Regions from separate parts of the Homo sapiens genome. Here region 1 is linked to region 2. The links are contacts of gene promoters, found by promoter capture Hi-C in human tissues and cell types (Jung and others, 2019). All regions are on one chromosome and are shown on one strand. Each heading gives the region's core, a stretch centred on a gene start or on the middle of the fragment in contact. The rest is flanking DNA. Distances are from core to core; before and after follow the strand shown.

Evidence for each region. Contacts are between HindIII fragments. The study calls those that stand out against the background at their distance.
Region 1: a contact is called between a fragment that was not itself captured here and the fragment with the promoter of CRYL1 in region 2, in 1 of the 25 tissues and cell types used here (H1 embryonic stem cells).

Annotation. Positions count from the first base shown.
Region 1 is chr13:20,575,442-20,580,426 of GRCh38, forward strand. The region is part of intron 2 of IFT88 (intraflagellar transport 88); the gene reads left to right. Among named protein-coding and RNA genes, the nearest start is that of IFT88, 11 kb to the left of the region's middle. The HindIII fragment of the contact is 4,952 bases long and covers 1-4,596 here.
Region 2 is chr13:20,522,928-20,527,918 of GRCh38, forward strand. CRYL1 (crystallin lambda 1) reads right to left here and starts at 2,930. Exons shown (of 8, transcript NM_015974.3): 1 at 2,827-2,930. The coding sequence starts at 2,867. RefSeq lists a silencer at 2,606-3,155 and an enhancer at 3,336-3,445. The HindIII fragment of the contact is 16,444 bases long and covers 1-4,991 here.

The DNA.
Region 1 (4,985 bases), core at 871-3,370, 52 kb after region 2:
CTGTGATAGAGTTTGTATATTTATCCCCACGCACATCTCATGTTGAATTGTAATACCCAGCATTGGAGGTGAGACCTGGTGGGAGGCGATAGGATCATGAGAGTGGATTTCTCATGAATGGTTTAGCATGATCTTCTTGGTGCCATCCTCACCCCATGTGATGTGACTGCTCCCATTTTGCCTTCTGTCATGAGTGAAAGCTCCCTGAGGCCTCCCCAGAAACTGAGCAGATACTGATATCATGCTTGTACAGCCTGCAGAACGATGAGCCAATCAAACCTCTTTTCTTTATAAATTACCCAATCTCAAGCATTCTCTGGTGCAAAAGTAACTGCAGTTTTTGCCATTTTAATTGCAAAACTGCAATTACTTTGGCGCCAACCTAATAGCAATGCAAGAACGGCCTGGTACATACTGATTTCTTTTCGTTTGAGTATATTCCTAGCAGTGGGATTGTTGGATCATATGATAGATCTATTTTTAGTTTTTTGAGGAACCTCTAAACTGTTCTCCATAGTAGTTGTACTAATTTACATTCTCACTAACAGTATATGAGGGTTCCCTTTTCTCCACATTCTCACCACCATTTGTTATTACCTGTCTTTTGGATAAAAGCCATTTTAACTGGAATGAGATGACATCTCGTTGTAGTTTTGATTTCCATTTCTCTGATGGTCAATAATGTTGAGCACTTTTTCATATACATGCTTGCCATTTGTATGTCTTCTTTTTAGAAATATCTATTCAGATCTTTTGCCCATTTTTAAATCAGATTATTAGATTTTTTCCTACAGAGTTGTTTGAGTTCCTTACATATTCTGGTTATTAATCCCTTGTCAGAGGGATAGTTTATAAATATTTTCTCCCATTCTGTGGGTTGTCTCTTCACTTCATTGTTTCCTTTGTCGTGCAGAAGCTTTTTAACTTGATGTGATCTCATTTGTCCATTTTTGCTTTGATTGCCTGTGCTTGTGGGGTATTACTCAATAAATCTTTGCCCAGTCCAGTGTCCTGGAGAGTTTCCCTAGTGTTTTCTTTTAGTAGTTTCATAGTTTGAGGTCTTAGATTTCTAAGTCCTTCATCCATTTTTATTTGATTTTTGCATATGGTGAGAGATAAGGGTCTAGTTTCATTCTTCTGCATGTGGATATTCAATTTTCTCAGCACCATTTATTGAAGAGAATGTCTTTTCCCTAATGTATGTTTCTGGCACCTTTGTCAAAAATGAGTTCACTGTAGATGTCTAGATTTGTTTCTGGGTTCTCTATTCTGTTCCATTAGTCTGTCTGTTTTTATGCCAGTATCATGCTGTTTTGGTTACTATAGCTCTATAGTGTAATTTGAAGTCAGGTAATGTAATTCTTCAGTTTTGTTCTTTTTGCTCAGGACAGCTTTGGCTATTCTGGGTCTTTTGTAGTTCTATATAGACTTTAGGATGTTTTCTTCTGTTTCTGTGAATAATGACATTGGTATTTTGATAGGTGTTGCACCGAATCTGTAGATTACTTTGGGTAGTATGGACATTTTAACAATATTGGTTTTTCCAATCTATGAACATGAAACATCTTTCCATTTTCTTATGTCCTCTTCAGTTTCTTGCACCAATGTTTTATAGGTTTCATTGTAGATATTTTCACTTCTTTGGTTAAGTTAATTTCTAGATATTTAATTTTATTCGTAGATATTCTAAATGGGATTACTTTCGTGATTTATTTTCCAGATTGTTCACTTTTGACATATAGAAATGCTACTGATTTTTGTAGGTTGATTTTGTATCCTGCAACCTTACTGAATTTATCAGTTCTAATAGTTTTTTGGTGGAGTCTTTATGTTTTTCCAAATATAAGATCATATCATCTATAAACTAGGGTAATTTGACTTTTTCCTTTCTGGTTTGGATGCCCTTTATTTCTTTCTCTTGCCTGATTGCACTAGCTAGGATTTCCAGTACTATGTTGAATAACAGTGGTGACAGTGGTCATCCTTGGCATGTTCCAGATCTTAAAGGAAAGGCTTTCAGTTTTTTTTCATTCAGTATATTAGTTGTGAGTCTGTTACATGACTTTTTTCACGTTGAGGTATGTTTCTTCTATACACAGTTTTTTTTTAGGGTTTTTATGAAGGGATGTTGAATTTTACCTAATGCTTTTTCAGCATCAGTTGAAATGATCATGTGGTTTTTGTTCTTTATTCTGTCGATATGATGTATTACATTGATTGATTTGCATAAGTTGAACCATCCTTGCATCCCTGGGCTAAATCCCACTTGGTGATGATGAATGATCTTTCTAATGTATTGTTGGATTTGGTTTGCTAGTGTTTTATTGAGGATTTTTGCATCAATGTTCATCAGGGATGTTGGTCTATAATTTTCTTTCTTTGATGCATCTTTGTCAGGTTTTGGTATCGGTAATACTGGCCTTATAGAATGAGTTTGGAAGTATTTCCTCTTTCTCTGTTTTTTGGAGTAATTTGAGTAGGATTTATATTAGTTCTTCTTTAAATGTCTGGTAAAATTCAGCAGTGAAGCCATCAGGTGCCGAGCTTTTCTTTGCTGGGAGACTTTTTATTGTGGCTTCAGTCTTGTTACTTCTTTTTTTTTTTTTTTTTTTTTTTTTTTTCAGATGGAGTCTCACTCTGTAGCCCAGGCTGGAGTGCAGTGGTGCAATCTCAGCTCACTGCAAGCTCTGCCTCCCAGGTTCACGCCATCCTCTTGCCTCAGCCTCCCGAGTAGCTGGGACCACAGGTGCCTGCCACCACGCCTGGCTAATTTTTTGTATTTTTTTTAGTAGAGACAGAGTTTCACCGTGTTAGCCAGGATGGTCTCGATCTCCTGACCTCATGATCAGCCCGCCTCGGCCTCCCAAAGTGCTGGGATTACAGGCGTGAGTCATTGAGCCTGGCCCAGTCTTGTTACTTTTTTTTTTTTTTTTTTTTTTTCAGTCTTGTTACTTCTTATTGGTCTGTTCAGGTTTTGGATTTCTTCATGGTTCAATCTTGGTAGGTTGTATATGTCTAGGAATTTATCTCTTTCTTCTAGGTTTTCAATTTATTGGTATATAGGTGCTCATAGTAGCTTCTAATGATCCTTCAAATTTCTGGTTTTGTTGTAGTTGTTGTTGTTTGAGACAGAGTCTCGCTCTGGTTGCCCAGGCTGGAGTGAAATGGTGCAATCTCAGCTCACTGCAACCTCTGCTTCCTGGGTTCAAGTGATTCTCCTGCCTCAGCCTCCCAAGTAGCTGGGATTACAGGCATGTGCCACCACGCCCGGCTAATGATGTATTTTTAGTAGAGATGAGGTTTTACCATGTTGGTTCGGCTGGTCTTGAACTGCTGACCTCAGAAGATCTGCCTGCCTAGGCCTCCCAAAGTGCTGGGATTACAGGTGTGAGCCACCGCATCCAGCCGATCCTTCACATTTCTATGGTATCAGTTGTAATGTCCCTTTTTTATCTCTGATTTTACTTATTTTGGTCTTCTCTCTTTCTTTGTAGTTAGTCTGGCTAACGGTTTGTCAATTTTATCTTTTCACAAAACCAACTTTTTGTTTTGTTGATCTTTTGTATTGTTGTCTTTGATTCATTTTCATTTATTCTGCTCTGATATTTATTATTTTCTTTGGGTTTGGTTTGCTTTGCTTTTCTAGTTCGAGATGCATCATTAGGTTATTTGAAGTTTTTCTTCTTTTTTGATGTAAACACTTATAACTATAAACTTCTCTCTTAATACTGTTTTCACTGTATCCCACAGCTTTTGGTGAAACCAGCCAGGCTTGTATCCTTCCCTTAAGTCAACCAGTTCCCCTGGGCCCTGGGTGGGTCCAGAGATGCTGTCTGGGAGCCAGGGCCTGGAGTCAGAATCCTTAGAAATTTGCTTGGTGCTCTATTCTTCTGCTGCTGCTGAGCTGGCACTGAACCGTAAGACAAAGTCCTTTCCACTCTTTCCACCCTTTTCCCCAGGCAGCAGATTCTCTCCTGTGTCTGTCACCACAACAGACCCGCAGAGAGTACTACCAGGGTATCGCCAATGTTTACTTAAGGCCCAAGGGCTATTCCTTCAGGTTTTGGTGAATTCTGCCAGGCCTGGGACTCACCCTTCAAGGCAGTGGGTGTCCCTCTGGCTCAGGGTAGGTCCAGAAATGCTACCCAAGAGCCAAGGCCTGGAATCAGGGACCCTAAGAACCCACTTGATGCTCTAACCCACTGTGGCTGAGCTGATACCTAAGTTGCAAGACAAAGTCCCCTTTACTCTCCCCTCTTCTCATCTCAAACAGAAGCAGTCTCTCTTTGTAGCCACCACAGCTGTGAATGTGCTGGGTCACACCTGAAACCAGTAGATCTCAGAGTCTCACCCAAGTCCCACTGTATGTACTACCTGGTTATTGCTGCTGATTATTCAGGACCCAAGGGCCCTTTATTCAGCAGTGACGAATCCTGCCATGGCTGGGTTCTTTCCTTCAAGGGAATTTAGTATAAATCAGGAAAACCATTGAAACCTCCTCATTCTCCCAATTATAAAATTAAGAAATGCTTATGGAAACAAAAACTAGTAATCCCATCACTCAAGAAATAACTACTGTCAACATTTTAAACATTTTTGTGCTTTGTCTTTCCTTCATGTATACATACACAATTTTCTTTTAGTATGTTTGGAATTGAACTAGTAATTACTTTTCTGTTTACTTTTTTACATTCAACTACATCATAAGCAGTGTCTCATGATACTAAATATTTGAATATTACTTTAATGACTACATAATATTGAAAATATATAGGTGATTAGAAGTATTTTCTCTGCCAGACGCGGGGACTCACACCTATAATCCCAGCATTTTGGGAGGCTGAGGTGGGCAGATCATCTGAGGTCCGGAGTTCAAGACCAGCCTGACCAACATGGTGAAGTTCTGTCTCTACTAAAATACAAAAATTAGCCAGCCGTGGTGGCGGGCACCTGTAATCTCAGCTGCTTGGAAGGCTGAGGCAGGA
Region 2 (4,991 bases), core at 1,680-4,179:
TTTTTTTTGAGATGGAGTCTCACTCTATCCCCCAGCTGGAGTGCAGTGGTGTGATCTTGGCTCACTGAAACCTCCGCCTCCTGAGTTCAAGCGATTCTCCTGACTCAGCCTCCTGAGTAGCTGGGATTACAGGCATGCACCACCACGCCCGGCTAATTTTTGTATTTTTAGTAGAGACGGGATCTCGCCATGTTGGCCAGACTGGTCTCGAACCCCTGACCTCAGGTGATCTGCCCTCCTAGGCCTCCCAAAGTGCTGAGATTACAGGCATGAGCCACCATGCCTGGACTTCTACTCCCATTTTTAAAAGTTATCACTACCAGATTTTCCTGCAGCCCTAGGCCCAAAAGAGTTTCTCTCATCCTCTTTCAAGCCCTCCCCATTCTGAAGGGACTTGCCCTGGATGTTTATAGGACAGCTAAGTGGCCCTAAGGAAGAGTGAACTTTGGAAAAAGATCAGCGGAAAAGAATTAAGTGGGACTGTATTCCTAGCAGGTACTTTCAAGATGAAATCTATAAACTGATAAGGAAAGCTGAAAACACAATATGCTCCTGAAATTGAAATATGTATATTTTGGTCTGTTGAAACCTAAGAATGAAACTGAACCAGGTTTTGGCAAATTAATTGACATTCCCCAAGCCCTATTTGTTAAGTGGGTGTTCCTTGGAATCACCTGTGGGGCCAGGAAAGAAATAGAGGGACGAGAAAGAAGGGTGGTAAAGAGGAAGGGAAGAAACCAGCACTGTCCCAGAGGCAGAGCTGGGTGTGTGCTGAAGTGCTGAGGGTGGGGGAAAGACAAGATTTTCACACCAGAAAACAAAGAAACAAGCAGAGGCCCCAGAGAATTATGTGGTCCTTAAAGTTTGGAAGCCTTTCTCTAATTCCTTATCAACATCCCTCAAGGAATCAGAAGTAAACTGTTAACTGAAGCTCCTCCTCAGTAGACTGAGCCACCCACAGCCAGATAACTGCACAATCAACTAAAACTTTACTTCACATGTATTAGGTGCATGCATAACACTACTCCAAGGCATGATGGACCTATACAAGGCCAAGCAAGGTGGCTCACAACTGTAACCCCAACACTTTGGGAGGCCAAAGCGCTTGCACCCAGGAGTTCAAGACCAACCAGGGCAAGATGGTGAGACCCCATCTCTACCTAAAAATTTTAAAAATCAGCCGGGTATGGTGACACATGCCTGCTGTGGGAGGATGGCTTGAGCCCGGAAGGTGGAGATCCACCATGATAGTGCCACTGCACTCCAGCCTGGGCGACAGAGCGAGACCCTATCCTATTAAAATTGTGTGTGTGTGCGCGTGCGCGCACGCATGCGTGTAAAAACTGTGTGTGTATATATATGTGTGAGTGTATATATATACACACACACATAAACTCTGGTAACTATTAATAAAATGCAAGACAGAGGTAACTACCACCACTGGTACAAAGTGCACTTTTTTTTTTTCAGACGGAGTTTCGCTCTTATTGCCCAGACTGGAGTGCAATGGCACCATCTCGGCTCACCGCAACCTCCGCCTCCCGGGTTCAAAGGATTCTCCTGCCTCAGCCTCCCGAGTAGCTGGGACTACAGGCATGTGCCACTACGCCCGGCTAATTTTGTATTTTTAGTAGAGACGGAGTTTCTCCATATTGGTCAGGCTGGTCTCGAACTCCCGACCTCAGATGATCCGCCTGCCTCGGCCTCCCAACGTGCTGGGATTACAGGGGTGAGCCACCGCGCGCGGCCCAAAGTGCACTTTTTAATATGCCTTCACTATTCAACCACGGGCACTCATGGGCCAGAAAGAACAAAGGCACAGTTAACTCCACTGCTCTGGAGAAAAGAAAGCTGACAACAAGGAATCTGATGCCTTCCTTCAGTGGGAAGGAAACACCCTGACATTGGAAGTGGTCTCCACACCGGGTTGTACACTGATGGGGGGCGGAGTCGGGGGCAGGCCAACACCTCAACAGCAGTCACCAAAAAGGTGCTTTTAACTATCAATAGCAAGTATTAACATGTTTATAGATTGCTGCTAACAGCTGGCCAAAGAAAGGTACATACAAATGCCCCTTTTTAAAAAACAAAAATAGCAAGGATTGTAACCGTAGGGGTGGGGGGCGGGGTGGGGGAAGCACACACTAAAAATCAGTTTGGGCAGAATTTAAGCTGTTAAATGGACACACTTAGCAAACTCTCTGGGCTCCATCGGCCCCCACCTCCCCTCTGGAAACATCGCCTCGCCCAGGAATTAGGACTGCGTGTATGTTCGCCTAACACCTGCTGCGGCCTCCAGCGACATCGTCGCCGACAGGACTGCGCTGGCACCCTCCCTGCTGGGCTAGTCCTGTCTCCGTCACTAAACGCCTGTGACCTTAGGTAAACTGCTTAGTCTCAGTATTCTCATTCGTAAAATGGGGATGAGAACACAGTCGTCGCAGGATCGCAGCCAGAATTCGTTTCATTCAACACGGTGCCTGGCACTTCTATGTGGACCTGCGGGCAGACGCGGCGACATTCAACAGAGTCCAGGAACCGCAGGCCCCGCGGCCTGGGCGGTCAACCTCGGAACCTCCTGCAACGCTGGCTCCCGGGAAGCAGACCCAACTCCGCGGGGCGCCTCCACCTGCCAAGCCCCTCCAGCCGCGCCTCTCCCCGAGCCCGCCAGCGCCGTAGGGGCCGCAGGGCGCAGGGCTTCGGAGGACCGGAGGCCGGGGCGGGGACAGCGACCCGGCGCCCACCCCGAGGGCCCCACGCGAGGGCACCACGTCCCCGGCGTCTCCCCGGGCTCCAGGGGCAGCAGCGCGGCTCGGAGCCCTTTACCTGCCAACGATCACCACGCAGCCGGCCGCGGAGGACGCCATGGTTGGGCCGGGGACGCGGCGCCGCGGGCGCTGGGACCAGGCGCCGGCGGAGCTGCGAGCTCTGGGCTCCGGGGAGGGCGGGTCCCGCGCCCATTGGCTGCGCGCGCGGACCGGGAGGGCGGGGAGGGCCGCTTGGTCCCTGAGTGGGGTGCGCGCCGCGGGCCCGAGACACCGGGAGACACACGGCGCGCCGACCCTCGTGGGCAGGGGCAGGACCAGCGCGGGGGCACGTCGGGGGGTGGAAAGCGGGAAGACCACGCGCTTGTGACTGTCAGCATTCACCGTGAAGTCCGTGTCTATAGGAGGGGACACGGGCAGGCTGGCACGGGCTCTAGCGCTAAAGCACCCTAGAGAAACTGTCAGAGAATGTCCCCTTTGCTAATTCGTCTCTGAAAGACGCCTGCCGCTGCCGCCAACTGCGAACTGGGCGCAGGGACTGCGACAGCAGTGAAAGAGAACACCTGATGCGTTCATCTGCGCTACGGAAGGACACGTCTGAATTCCTCCACGGAGCACACTCTGCACTCGGTTTATGTATCAGAAAAAGGAAATGCCCTCGTGCCCTGACTCCTGGCCTTCTTGGAGCCCGGAACAGACCAAGAGGAAGGGGCATCACACATTGCCTGACAGTGGTGTGCGTCCACACAGCACAAGCTGAACGGGAAATGACACAGTCATTAGACAGAGGAGACAGTACTCAAGCTGGAACCGCAGCCAACACTGAGATGATAAAAGGAAGTCTTCCTTTGTTTCCCCTGAGTCAGGAACGTGGAAAGAGAAATCTCAGGGGAGGGGTTAGGTTTTTTTGTTTTGTTTTGTTTTTTAAAGAACAGTTTCACAAATTATCGATAAATATTTGTAAAGTATTCAACCTCAAGAGAAATGAAAAGTAACACAAGGAAGATAAGTCATCTCTCACTCATCAGATTGGCTAAGTCACATGGATTGATTATATTCCCATATCCGTAATGGAGTGTTTCGGACATGCAACTTACACACAGTAGAAGGCAAGCTTAAATGTTGAGGACTTTTTGGAGGGAATGTTACAGTACATTGTTGAGACAGCCGCTAGCCTGAGCAACCGCGCCTGCTCTGGCTGAGAATACAAGGCTCCAAAGCTTCCATCTTCTGATGGAGCAGTTTCTGTAGTCAGTTACACAGGCAGCCAATATAATAATCAAGGCACCCAGGGAGTGAGCATCCTGTGACTGCTCACTACCGGAGGCTATGGGGGCAGCAGACTGGCTTGTTTGCTGCTCCCTGCAAAGTCATGCCTGAAATCCCAGCGCTTTGGGAAGCTGAGTAGTAAATAATAGCTTGAGGCCAGGAGTTCAAGACCAGCCTGGGCAACAAAGCGAGACCCCTGTCTCTACCAAAAAATTAAAAAACTTATCCAGGCTGGTGCCGCCTGTAGTCTCAGCTACTCAGTAGGCTGAGGCAGGAGGATTGCTTGAAGCCAGGAGTTTGAGACCAGCCTGTGCGAGATAGTGAGAACCCCCCCCCCCGCATCTCTAGTGTGTGTGTATATATATGTGTGTGTGTGTGTGTGTGTGTGTGTGTTTATATATTTATTTATTTATGTGTACATATATTTATAACTTTAATCCTTCTGGTACCAAACAAAAAAAATACAGATTTATTTAAATTAGCCAGGTGTGGTGGTGCATTCCTGTAGTCCCAGCTACTCAGGAGGATCTCTTGAGCCCTGGAGTTCAAGGCTGCAGTGAGCTATGATTTTGCCACTCTACTCCAGCCTGGCTAACAGAACAAGACTTTGTCTCAAAAGAAAGCAAAAGTGGCTGGACGCGGTGGCTCACGCCTGTAATCCCAGCACTTTGGAAGGCCGAGGCGGACGGATCACAAGGTCAGGAGATCGAGACCATCCTGGCTAACACGGTGAAACTCCGTCTCTACTAAAAATTAGCCAGGCGTGGTGGCAGGCGCCTGTAGTCCCAGCTACTCGGGAGGCTGAGGCAGGAGAATGGTGTGAACCCAGGAGGCAGAGCTTGCAGTGAACCAAGATCACGCCACTGCACTCCAGCCTGGGCGACAGAGCGAGACATCATCTCAAAAAAAAAAAGAAAGCAAAAAGTGCTGGGCCCTTGCTCGTTGCAAACACAGGAG